Regions from separate parts of the Homo sapiens genome. Here region 2 is linked to region 1. Evidence: promoter capture Hi-C in human tissues and cell types (Jung and others, 2019). All regions are on one chromosome and are shown on one strand. The core of a region is centred on a gene start or on the middle of the fragment in contact, and the rest is flanking DNA. Distances in the headings are between cores, read along the strand shown. Region 1 holds the start of CBX1 (chromobox 1). Region 2 holds the start of LOC105371813 (a long non-coding RNA gene).

Region 1 (5,982 bases), core at 2,150-4,649:
ACAGAGACTGTCCCCACAAAAAAGAAGCCATGCATGGTGGCATGAGACTGTAGTCCTAGCTACTCAAGAGGCTGTGGTGGGAGGACTGCTTGTGTCCAGGAGGTTGAGGCTTCAGTGAGCCATGATGCCACCACTGCACTCCAGCCTGGCAACAGAGCGACACTCTGTCTTAAAAAAACAAAAAACAAACAAACAAACAAACAAAAAGAAACTAACTGAGGCTAAGACAAACATGGCAAAGCAACAGCTTAACTCTGCCAAATGTCACAGACACAGGACAAGCAAACTACTATGCACATTAATTTGGCTGAGTTCTCAGAATGGATCTCAAAGCTCCCCTATTCATCATTCATTCATCAACAATCTGAACGGCCTACTATGTGCCAGGCACTAATGAACAAGAGGTGCGTCCCCATTTTTTCATTTTTCTTTTTTTGAGACAGAGTTTCGCTCTTGTTGCCCAGGCTGGAGTGCAATAGCGCGATCTCGGCTCATGGCAACCTCTGCCTCCCGGGTTCAAACGATTCTCCTGCCTCAGCCTCCCAAGTAGCTGGGATTACAGGTGTGCACCACCACGCCCAGCTAATTTTGTATTTTTAGTAGAGATGGGGCCAGTATGGCTCCATTTTATGGGAGCCCATAAACTAGCAATTAGCCTTCTACACCAGAAACTCTTCGTGGAAAGAACCTATGAAGTGAAAATCTACCAAATCTAATGCAAAATCTCTTACACCACTGCAGATAGGATTTTTTTTTAAAAAAGGGAGGTTTTGCTAGATAAACCACTAGAGGATGCCAAAATTTAATGAATTATTTTCAAATGGTGTGAACAACAAAGAGAAACATTTTCCTAGTCCTTAAAATGGGCACAAGAATGAGTGCTATCTTTCTTTAGAGGTATAGTTTGTAAGTTATAGGTATCCTGTATTCAGAAATGCAGAAGACCAGGGTAACTTACTTACCACTAGGCTTCTATTTACATTCAAAACTATTTATTTCACACACCATCTATCTACCTATCATCTATCTTTTCTTTTTTTTGAGACAGAGTCTCGCTCTGTTGCCCGGGCTGGAGTGCAGTGGTGCAGATCTCGGCTCACTGCAACCTCTGCCTCCCGGGTTCAAGCGATTCTCCTGCCTCAGCCTCCCGAGTAGCTGGGACTACAGGCATGCGCCACTAGGCCCAGCTAATTTTGTATTTTTAGTAGAGACAGGGTTTCACCATGTTGGTTGGCCAGGATGGTCTCGATCTCTTGACCTCATGATCCGCCCACCTCAGACTCCCAAAGTGCTGGGATGACAGGCTTGAGCCACTGCGCCCGACCCTACTATTTATTTTTTTAATGAGAAACAATTTAGGATACAGCAGCCATTGAAGAAAAATATCACCACAGGGAAAACCGTAAACGACTTCAGGTCCTCCACTCCCGTGAAGCTTCATTAAGGTGCCACCGGTTTCAATACAAGTGCTTTTCAATCACACCACTTTCATATAAAAGTCTATAAGGCACCTAGGGAGGAACACCGGCATTAATTTCCCCATTGTATTCCTGAATCTATTCCAAAGCCTTGGACCTTTCACAATCTTTCCAAACTGCTGATGTGACTCTTAACACAATTGAGGAGGCTACTTTACCCTGGGCTAGGGGTTCTAGTATATAACTGATTATAGCTGAACTTTTTGTAAATTCCACCTCAATTGCGTTAAACCAACACGTCTAAATGTAACACCAATTTATGAAAAACCCTCATTTGAAACTTTGAAAAAGAGGTAAAATATGGCCAGGCGCAGTGGCTCACGCCTATAATCCCAGCACTTTGGGAGGCCGACGCGGGAGGATCACGAGGTCAGGAGTTCGAGACCAGCGTGACCAGTACGGTGAAACCCCGTCTCTACTAAAAATACAAAAATTAGCCGGGCGTGGTGGCGTGTGCCTGTAATCCCAGCTAGTCGGGAGGCTGAGGCAAGAGAATCGCATGAATCCGGGAGGTGGAGGTTGCAGTGAGCCAAGATCGCACCACTGCACTCCAGCCTGGGCAACAGAGGAAGACTCTTCTCAAAAAAAAAAAAAAAAAGAGGTAAAATATAGCTCACTCTATTCAAATTTTCCAACAAGGAAAAGCTGGCTAAAAACAGAAGGGCCCACGAAACAAATATTACCTCACAATCTCACATAATTTTCCTATGTCTCCCAATTTCTCGCACCTCACACGATCTCACAATCTCTCACTACCTCACGCCGTTCCTCAACTATTAACTCATCTACATATTTTTACAATTTCATCACCTTTGTGAGACCAGTTACGATCCCACACAAAAACGTACGGAACTAATTTTGAATCAAAGCAAGAACTGCACTTGGACTTTTTTAACTCCCCAAAGGAATCATGGAGTGAAGGTAGTAGGAAACCTGGAAAACTGAAAAAAGCGTATTCCATCCTTTCTTCGCACATTATTCTTACAGCCTCCCCACTGTAAGGACCCATCAGGATGCAAGGGCGGCCTGCTTTCCCCTTTTTTCTTACATACCTTATAGAAATATTCTCGGGATCTCCGCCCTACTTATCCTAACAGCTCCTCCCCTTCCAGAGTCAGGCCCAGCAAACGCCTGCCCCTCCCCCTCCGTGTCCCCTTTCCCAATTTATTCCACACATCTCCTCCTCCAATCAGCACACCTTGTGCGGCCCTGGGCCCTCTTCCAATTCACTCGACGTTACTCCTCCGTAGTCCTGCAAAGCCAGGTTCCTCTGGCAGTCCCAGCCGGACCCGGCGTCTTCCGAATACAGTTACAAACCTCGGGTTGTGCGGTCGTATGCGCCTCCTCACGCCTATCCAAGCCTCAAGCCTGTCCCCTTCCGCCCTATCCCGCAGCCGCCCAGCCAAGCAACATTGTTCCAGACCACCCGGGCCCCGAAGAGCGGCCCCCAAGTGCTCGGCCCACCCCCAAGCACTCAGTCTCTGGCTCAGGATTCGCGCCCCGCCCTCTCCATCCTTCACGCAGCTGGCACCGACGCCTCAGCGACAGGCGAAGAGCTCAGCGCGGGAAGCGGAGAAGCAGGACGCTGGACCCGGGCGCGCTCCCCGCTCCTAACCTCCGCCTCGAAAGCGCGTTCCCTCACGCAGGGCTCCCGCCGCCGCCGCCGCCGCGCCCCCTCCCCCAGCTCTCCCGCCTCCAGCGGGCTCCTCACCTCAGAGCAGCGCCCAAGAGCCCGAGAGGAATCGGTGCTGCGCTGCTGGCGCGTCGCGTCGGGTCGCCTGGGGGAGTGGCGCCCAGGAAGGCAGCAAGCCGGGTGGCCGCAGTGGCGTCCCTCACTGAAGCGGCGTACCGCAGGCCCCGGCCAACGGCCCTCCCCTCAGCCGAACAAAAGAGCCTCGCAGTCTGCGCTGCCCGCCGCTCGCACCGCGCAGGCGCAACGACCCGCCGCACGGCACCATGGGCCTCGGGGGTCTGTCCAAGACTACAAGGCCCGAAGCGCCGCGCGCCGCGCACGCACAGTAGGCGAGGGTGGTAGGGACTTATAGTTTTTAAACTGTAACGGTGGAGAGATTGCAGCGTAGAGCGTTGTAACCTAGAATATTAGAACATATGGGCCAGGGGCAGTCGCTCACGCCTGTCATCCCAGCACTTTGGGAGGCCGAGGCGGGTGGATCACCTGAGGTCAGGGGTTCGAGACCAGTCTTACCAACAAGGTGAAACCCTGTCTCTACTAAAAATGCAAAAATTAGCCGAGCGTGGTGGCAGGTGCCTGTAGTCCCAGCTACTCAGGAGGCTGAGACAAGAATTGCTTGAACTTGGGAGGCGGAGCTTGCAGTGAGCCGAGATCCAGCCACTGCGATCCAGCCTGGGCGATGGAGCGAGACTCCATCTCAAAAAAAAAAAAAAAAAAAAATTAGAACATATGATTTTTATAAGCGAGCCCCCTGATGCTTGGCCCCCAAAAAATCAACCACTTCTGGACAGTTCTGTAATTCACATCCTCAAAATTTTTGAATCTTAGATTCTTCACCAGAACTTTATCATATCGCCGCTGCCTCAAATTTCCAATGATTTCTTAGTCCTCAATCTCTGCCTCCTCAAATCTCTGTAAAATTCCTACTCACGCCGGCACGGTGGCTCAAGCCTATAATCCCAACACTTGGGGAGGCGGAGGTGGGTGGATCACTTGAGGTCAGGGTTTCAAGACCAGCCTGGCCAACATGGTGAAACCCCATCTCTACTAAAATACAAAAATTAGCTGGGCGTCGTGGCGGGCGCCTGTAGTGCCAGCTACTCGGGAGGCTGAGGGAGGAGAATCGCTTGAACCCAGGAGGTGGAGGTTACAGTGAGCCGAGATCGCGCCATTGCACTCCAGCCTGGGCAACAAGAGCGAAACTTCGTCTAAAAAAAAAAATACTGTTCAGTGTTAAGATTACTTCCCCTTTGAGGTCTTCCCTGATTCCCTAGAGTAGGTTAGGTCCCCCCATAGGCCTCTCATAGCTTCCTGAATTTCCCCCTTTTCACTGGCTGCGCCACAAAAATGTCCTCTTTTTCATTGTAAGTTGTGCTCACCTTTTTCAGTGTCATTAATCTCCGTCAGCACCTTTCACCCAATCATCCCAAGGAAACACACAATTAGGAAAAAAACATGTTTTTAAGCCACAATATAACTAAAGTTTTATTTTTTTATTTTAAAGTATCCTTCTAATCAGGAGGAAGAGGGAAACTCTATTGCACTCTACCCCAAAAGGCAAGAGTTTGCATTTATAAGACAGTTTTGCTGATGCAGGCACTGTTCAGGGCAGGAGTTTGCATTTATAAGACAGTTTTGCTGATGCAGGCACTGTTCACGGCTCTGGAGAACTGTCATGTAAGAAAAACCCAGCCCAGCAATATCATAATAGAGTTTAGTTAAAAGGGCTTCAAGAAAGCACAGAGAAGATGAGAGGTGAAGCCAGCTGGACTTCCTGGGTCGAGTGGGGACTTGGAGAACTTTTCTGTCTTACAAGAGGATTGTGAAATGCACCAATCAGCGCTCTATACCTAGCAAGGGGATTGTAAAATATACCAATCAGCACTCTGTAAAAACACACCAATCAGCCCTCTGTAGCTAGCAAGAGGATTGTAAAATGCACCAATCAGCACTCTGCAAAATGCACCAATCAGCGCTCTGTAAAATGCAGGAATCTAAAAGTAGCCAATCACAGGGAGGATTGAAAAAAGGGCACTCTGATAGGACAGAAATAGCAAATGGGCAGGGACAAACAAGGGTGTAAAAGCTGGCCCCCTGCCCCCCACCCATTCCTGTTAGCCCGCAGCAGCAACCTGCTCAGGTCGGTTTCCACGCTATGGAAGCCTTGTTCTTTCGCGTTCTTTCGCTCTTCACAACAAATCTTGCTGCTGCTCACTCTTTGGGTCCCTGCCAGCTTTAAGAGCTGTTTTTAACACCATGAAGGTCCGCGGCTTCATTGTTTAAGTCAGGGAGACCACAAACCCACCGGAAGGAATCAACTCCGGACACAAAGAGAGCAATTCTTCCTGAAACATTTGGGCTGGGTTTCTAGGAAGAAGCAAGTGAGAAGCAAGCATCTCCTCACTTCCTCCTGTAGTGTACTGTTTTTGACTGATGATGATGAGAAAATTAGTTGTAATGATAATTAGCTACTATTAATGAGTGCTTTTTTTGTTTTTTTTCCCTGAGGTGGAGTCTTGCACTGTCGCCCAGGCTGGAGTGCAATGGCAAGATCACGGCTCACTGCAACCTCCGCCTCCCGGGTTCATGCACTTCTCCTGCCTCAGCCTCCCAAGTAACTGGGATTACAAGTGCATGCCACCATGCACAGCTAATTTTTTTGTATTTTAGTAGAGACGGGGGTTTCACCATGTTGCCCAGGCTGGTCTTGAACTCCTGAGTTCAGGCATCCACCCGCCCAAAGTGCTAAGATTACAGGCGTGAGCCACCACTTCTGGTTTATTTTTTATTTTATTTTATTTATTTATTATT
Region 2 (5,982 bases), core at 2,208-4,707, 710 kb after region 1:
TTTAGTAGAGACAGGGTTTCACCATGTTGGCCAGCCTGGTCTCAAACTCCTGACCTCAAACGATCTGCCCGCCTCGGCCTCCCAAAGTGCTGGGATTACAGGCGTAAGCCACCACGCCTGGCCCAAACTTGCTAATTCTAGACAACTTTTATACCCTACAGCCAATGTCTTTGATATGACTGCACCCTTCCACCTTTCTCTATTCCTTTCTAAATCCAAATTTGGTGGTGTGGAGCCCTTAACTATGGAAGCTACCTATAAATAATATAATTATAAGCTTTTATGTGGGGATAGTTCTCTGGGCTTTTCAAAGAATTTTCATATTCATGCTCCCATTGAATGCTTACAATGAGAGGGATGGCAGAATTGTTACGTCAGCCAAGGATTGCCACTTGTTTCTTTCTCTTTCTGAAGAGGGCTGCCACTTATAGGCAAGACCCTTTATGGTGACACCAGAGCAGGGGGAGGAAGAGATGTGCTCAGGACAGATAAAACCTGGGTCTTCTGAGTCAATTGTTCCCAGTGAACAGGCACATTCTTGGCAAAGTTCAGGGGAACTAAGGTACTTGAAATCTTGACCTTGGACTACTTCCTTCCTTGAAGGTAAACGGCTAGCTCCACTCCCCTAGCCCTCCGCAACGGCTCCTATGTACCAAGCCCTCAAGGAGGAGTGGCTCTGTTTACCTAAAGGTTAATGTTAACTTGGGGAGAGAAAACTGACCCTGAGTTTGACCTCTAGAAGTGCGGGTTCTCTTTGCTCATTTTTGAGTCCTTGCCTGAGTGGTAAGAACAAGTCATGGCTCCTTCTATGTGTCTGCCTCAAAGAGTAAGCCAGGTGCAGTGGCTCACGCCTGTAATCCCAACATTTTGGGAGGCCAAGGTGAGAGGATTGCTTGAGCCCAGGAGTTCAAAACCCGCCTGGGCAACAAAGTGAGACCCCATCTCTATTAAAAAAAAAATTAGCTGAGTGCAGTGCTGCATGCCTGTAGTCCCAGCTACTCAGGAGGCTGAGGTAGGAGGATTGCTTGAGCCTAAGAGTTTGAGGCAGCAGTGAGCCATGGCTGCACCACTGCACTCCAGCCTGGATGACAGAGACCCTGTCTCAAAAAAAGAAAAGAAAGGCCGGGCGCGGTGGCTCATGCCTGTAATCCCAGCACTTTGGGAGGCCTCAACTGAGGTCGGGAGTTCGAGACCAGCCTGACCAACATGGAGAAACCCCGTCTCTACTAAAAATACAGAAAATTAGCCAGGCATGGTGGTGCATGCCTGTAATCCCACCTCCTCAGGAGGCTGAGGCAGGAGAATTGCTTGAACCTGGGAGGCAGAGATTGCGGTGAGCCGAGATCATGCCATTGTACTCCAGCCTGGACAACAAGAGCGAAACTCTGTCTCAAAAAAAAAAAAAAAAAAAGGAAAAGAAAAGAAAAAAAAGGTCAAATTATGTTTGCTCTTGCATGAGAGGGCCTCATGCATGTAAAGTAAAAAATTGAGCCCATGCACTTTTAGATAAACTGTTTCACCATGGAATTATTGCCTGCATTTCCTCGTATTCTAGGCTGCCTATGACATAAGAGCCATCTTGGATGGTACCCGAGACAGGTGCAAGATGGCAAATGGTACTTGCCATGTGACTACTTTTGCTTTGTCTTTGGCCTCCTTGCTTTCATTTCCCCCAAGCTTCTCTCCCTGTTTAATCTCCAAGGCTGAATCCTGTCTCTCCAAAGATCCTGAAAGAGCATCTCCTTCAAAGTTTGCCTACTGGGGACAGGCATGCTGAATCTAGCTTGCAGAAATGTCTACTTCTGGGGCATAGTAGCGCATACCTATAATCCTAACACTTCGGGAGGCCGAGGTAAGGGAATCACCTGAGCCCAGGAGATTGAGGCTGCAGTGAGCTGTGATCATGCCACTGCGCTCCAGCTGGGCAACAGTGAGACCCTGTCTCAAAAAACAATCAAACAAAAAAACCTATGTGTATATATAGTATGTGTGTATATATATATAGTACATATATACACATATATAGTATGTGTGTATATATATATAGTACATATATACACATATATAGTATGTGTGTGTATATATATATATATATATATATATATATAGTATGTGTGTGTATATATATGTAGTTGCCAACAACTAGAAAATGCAGATTTCCATTTCTTTTGGAGAGGTCTCTATTCCTTCATGCCAGCAATCAACCAGAGCTCAGTAATGCCTCCTGTAGACATTTCCCAGTCTGCCCCAATGCCCAACACTCCTTTTTGTTTCCCTGACACAGGAGCCAAGTGACAGTTATCCTTATATTATTATTTTTCTTTTTTTTTTTTTTTTTTTGAGACAGAGTCTCACTCGTCACACAGGCTAGAGTGCAGTGGCATGATTTCGGCTCACTGCAACCTCTGCTTCCTGGGTTCAAGCGATTCTGTTGCCTCAGCCTCCCGAGTAGCTGGGATTACAGGTGCCTGTCACCATGCCTGGCTAAGTTTTGTATTTTTAGTAGAGAACGGAGTTTTATCATATTGGTCAGGCTGGTCTCAAACTCCTGACCTCAGGTGATCCACCCACCTTGGCCACTCAAAGTGCTGGGATTACTCAAAGCAAGTGTGAGCCACCATGCCCAGCCTATTTTTCTTATAGTAGCATTGAGACATCTCTTTTTTAGAGACATGGTCTTGCTATGTTGCCCAGGCTGGTCTCAAATGCCTGGCCTCAGGAGATCCTCCTGCCTCAACCTTGGAAGTAGCTGGGATTACAACCATGAGCCGCTGTGCCCAGCTCAAGAGAGGTGACATTTTCTTAAACGCAGCCCACTTCTTTCATTTAAACTATATGCCTGACCCTATAGACATCTGAATTTATACCAGTTCTGCTCTAGTATCTCTGGCCTCCAAGCAGTTTCAAGTGAAAACAAAAGCTACTTCCACCAGGGCTGAGCAGAAAGCTTTTTTTTTTTTTTTTTTTTGAGACAGAGTCTTGCTCTGTCACCCAGGCTGGAGTGCAATGGCACGATCCCAGCTCACTGCAACCTCCACCTCCCAGGTTCCAGCTATTCTTCTGCCTCAGCCTCCCAAATAGCTGGGATTACAGGCACCTGTCACCATGCCGGCCTAATTATTTTTGCATTTTTAGTAGAGACGGGGTTTTGCCATGTTGGCCAGGCTGGTTTCAAATTCCTGAACTCAGGTGATCCGCCCACCTCGGCCTCCCAAAGTGTTGGGATTACAGGCGTGAGCCACCACGCCCAGCCAGAAAGCATTTTAATTCCCTGGTTTTCAGAATAAGAATTAAATCTGACCCAGGTGATGCTGGGACCCCCCCCCCCACCCCCCGCTCAGACTTTTCAGATGTGGACTTTATTTGGTTCTACAAGACTTCTCTTAACAGTCTTAGCAACCACTCCCTGCTCACCTGGTAGTTCCCACCTATTGTCTTGCGTAACAATTTTGTTGGTGCCAACACCAAAAGCAGTCTTGTAGCCTTGAGGAATAAAAGGAGGAAAGGCAAAAGACATGGCCTAAGGAGAATACAAAGGAGTGAGGGGAGCTGCTGGTGGCATCCTGAAATATACATACATCATGGTGTAAGGGCCTCTGCCGTCAGCTACAGGTGACTAAGCCACTTATTAAGAGGCAGCTGCAGTGTAGTAGCTAAGAACTCAGATTTCGAAGTCTCTGTCTGGATTTAAATCCCAGCTCTGCCACTTCCTAGTTGTCTGAACTCAGGCAGTTTATTTAACCTCCTGCCTTAGTTTCCTCATCTGTAAAGTGGCTTCTCCCAGTTATGGAGATTAAATGAGTTTACTCATTTGACTTAATGCAACACAAAGTTCTTAGAACAGTGCCTGGCACATAGAAGGTACCCACAAAGTGCTCTCTACCATTACCAGCTGTGTAACCCTGGACTGTGAACTTCCTGATGGAAGAGGCTGTGTCTCTGCATTCTCAGCTCCTAGCAGTGTCTAGAAAAGATACTAAAAATGAGATGTTCATATGCTCCTTGAATTAATGGGCTGGAAGAATGAATAAATGCATGAACTAATTAAGCTTCTCCAAGGTTCATTTTCCTTAGCTATATAACAGAAGTGTTGTTGTGAGCATTAGGTAAGTAACATTTGTTATTTACATTGTTAAAACATCAACCTTGGGTCCTTCTCATATAGCTGGCACTTAAAATGCTTGTTTCATTCACTTACAATAGACTATTGAAAACCCACTTACCAAGTAGCAGACATTACACTAAAGCATTTATAAACATAATGTCTCATCCTCATAATAACCTATCATGGATACTCTTTCCTCTATTACAGATGAGAAGACTGAGACAGAGAGACTAAGGTAAGAGGCACAGCTGGGGTTGGAAGACATGTCCATCTGACCCCACAGCCTGTCTCTCCATGCTCCCCTCACTGCCTTTTCCTCTCGGCAGGCCATCCATAAATAGTGTGACCATAAACTAAAGTAACTGATCTCCTAACTCCCAAAAGCAATCTTAGTGACTTTAGTCTCTTAAGAGTCAGTTGGGGACAGGCACGATGGCTCATGCCTGTAATCTCAGCACTTTCGGAGGCCAAGGTGGGCAGAGCACTTGAGCCAGGGGTTTGACACCAGCCTGGACAACATGGTGAAACCCCACTCTACCAATAAATAAATAAATAAATAAGCCAGGTGTGGTGGCGTGTGCCTGTAGTCCCAGCTACTCAGGAGGCTGAGGTGGGAGGATCACTTTAGCCCGGGAGGCTGAGGTTGCAGCGAGTAGAGATCACACAACTGCACTCCAGCCTGGGAGACAGAACTAGACCTTGCCTCAAAAACAAAAAGAAAAAGAAAAAGAGAAAAATAATCAGTTGGTCCCACATCATTTTCCTTAAAGTCAACTGCTTTAAATTCCCATCTCCAACAAGGGCTTGGATCTCTCCAGATTTGCCATAACCTGGTAACAGCTGTATTGTTTCTACTTGTATTTATTTTCACTCTCTTTCCCTTCTTTTCTCCAATGTCCACATTGTACCAGGGCTCCTATTAAGGGTGTAATTAGAATATTTTCTAAGCTTCTATGGAATTCCTGAATGTTAGAGCTGGGAGGAATCTTTTTAGAGGAGGTTTTGAACTCTCTGCCCTCTGCCAGTCTGTGCTAGGGGAGGGGACTTGTACCCAGCCAGAGAGCAAGAAATCAGAAGCACCATCAAAACCCCAGCTTCCTGGTCCCCAAGTTATCTTCCCATTATGCTGGGTTAGTGGACAGACAAAGTGGACTAAGTGCTTTAGAGAGTTTTTAAAAGACTAAGGCTGGGTGCGGTGGCTCACGCCTGTAATTCCAGCACTTTGGGAGGCCAAGGCAGGTGGGTTACTTGAGGTCAGGAGTTGGAGACCAAGTTGGCAAACATGGTGAAACCCCGTCTCTACTAAAAATACAAAAATTAGCTGGGCATGGTGGCAGGCGCCTGTAATCCCAGCTACTCGGTAGGCTGGGGCAGGAGAATCGCTTGAACCTGGGAGGCGGACGTTGCAGTGAGCCCAGATCGCACCACTGCCCTCCAGTCTGGGTGACAGAGGGAGACAGTGTCTCAAAAAAAAAAAAAAAAAAAAAAAGACTAAGAGCTGTACTACCAATGTAACAAACACAGTAAATAGCAAAATAGCATCTTCAGTTTTTCTTAATGACACAAGAAAGAGCATTGTGTCATTAAGGAAGGGTATTAGTCCACCTTTCCAAGTAGGATATAGTTAAGACACTGAAAAAATTCTCATGTTTCCTTCCATTTTAGTATAGGGTTTGATCTTGAGATCTTCCAAGCCAGAGGCTGTCAACAAGATCCTGGTTAGACAGCACGAAAATGTCCTACATTGGCCACCAGGGGGAGGGAATGAGCACTGGGACGGGTCCACTGGGACGGGTCCATTGCGGGTTATTTGGAAAAAACTCAGAGGAGGGTCCCTGTCTTATTTCCACTTCTGAAGGACTATACCTGTTGACTAC

What was found. The method cuts DNA at HindIII sites, captures the fragments that hold promoters and counts their contacts. A contact is called where the count stands out against the background at its distance.
Region 2: a fragment that was not itself captured here is called in contact with the fragment with the promoter of CBX1 in region 1 in 2 of the 25 tissues and cell types used here (IMR-90 fibroblasts and lymphoblastoid cells).

What each region holds. Positions count from the first base shown.
Region 1 is chr17:48,098,079-48,104,060 of GRCh38, forward strand. CBX1 (chromobox 1) reads right to left here and starts at 3,400. Exons shown (of 5, transcript NM_001127228.2): 1 at 3,190-3,400. RefSeq lists enhancers at 3,133-3,732, 3,559-3,818 and a silencer at 3,139-3,188. The HindIII fragment of the contact is 10,755 bases long and covers 1-5,982 here.
Region 2 is chr17:48,808,748-48,814,729 of GRCh38, forward strand. The region is part of intron 1 of TTLL6 (tubulin tyrosine ligase like 6); the gene reads right to left. It overlaps LOC105371813 (a long non-coding RNA gene), which reads left to right and starts at 3,493. Exons shown (of 4, transcript XR_001752926.1): 1 at 3,493-3,612; 2 at 4,313-4,340. The HindIII fragment of the contact is 4,960 bases long and covers 978-5,937 here.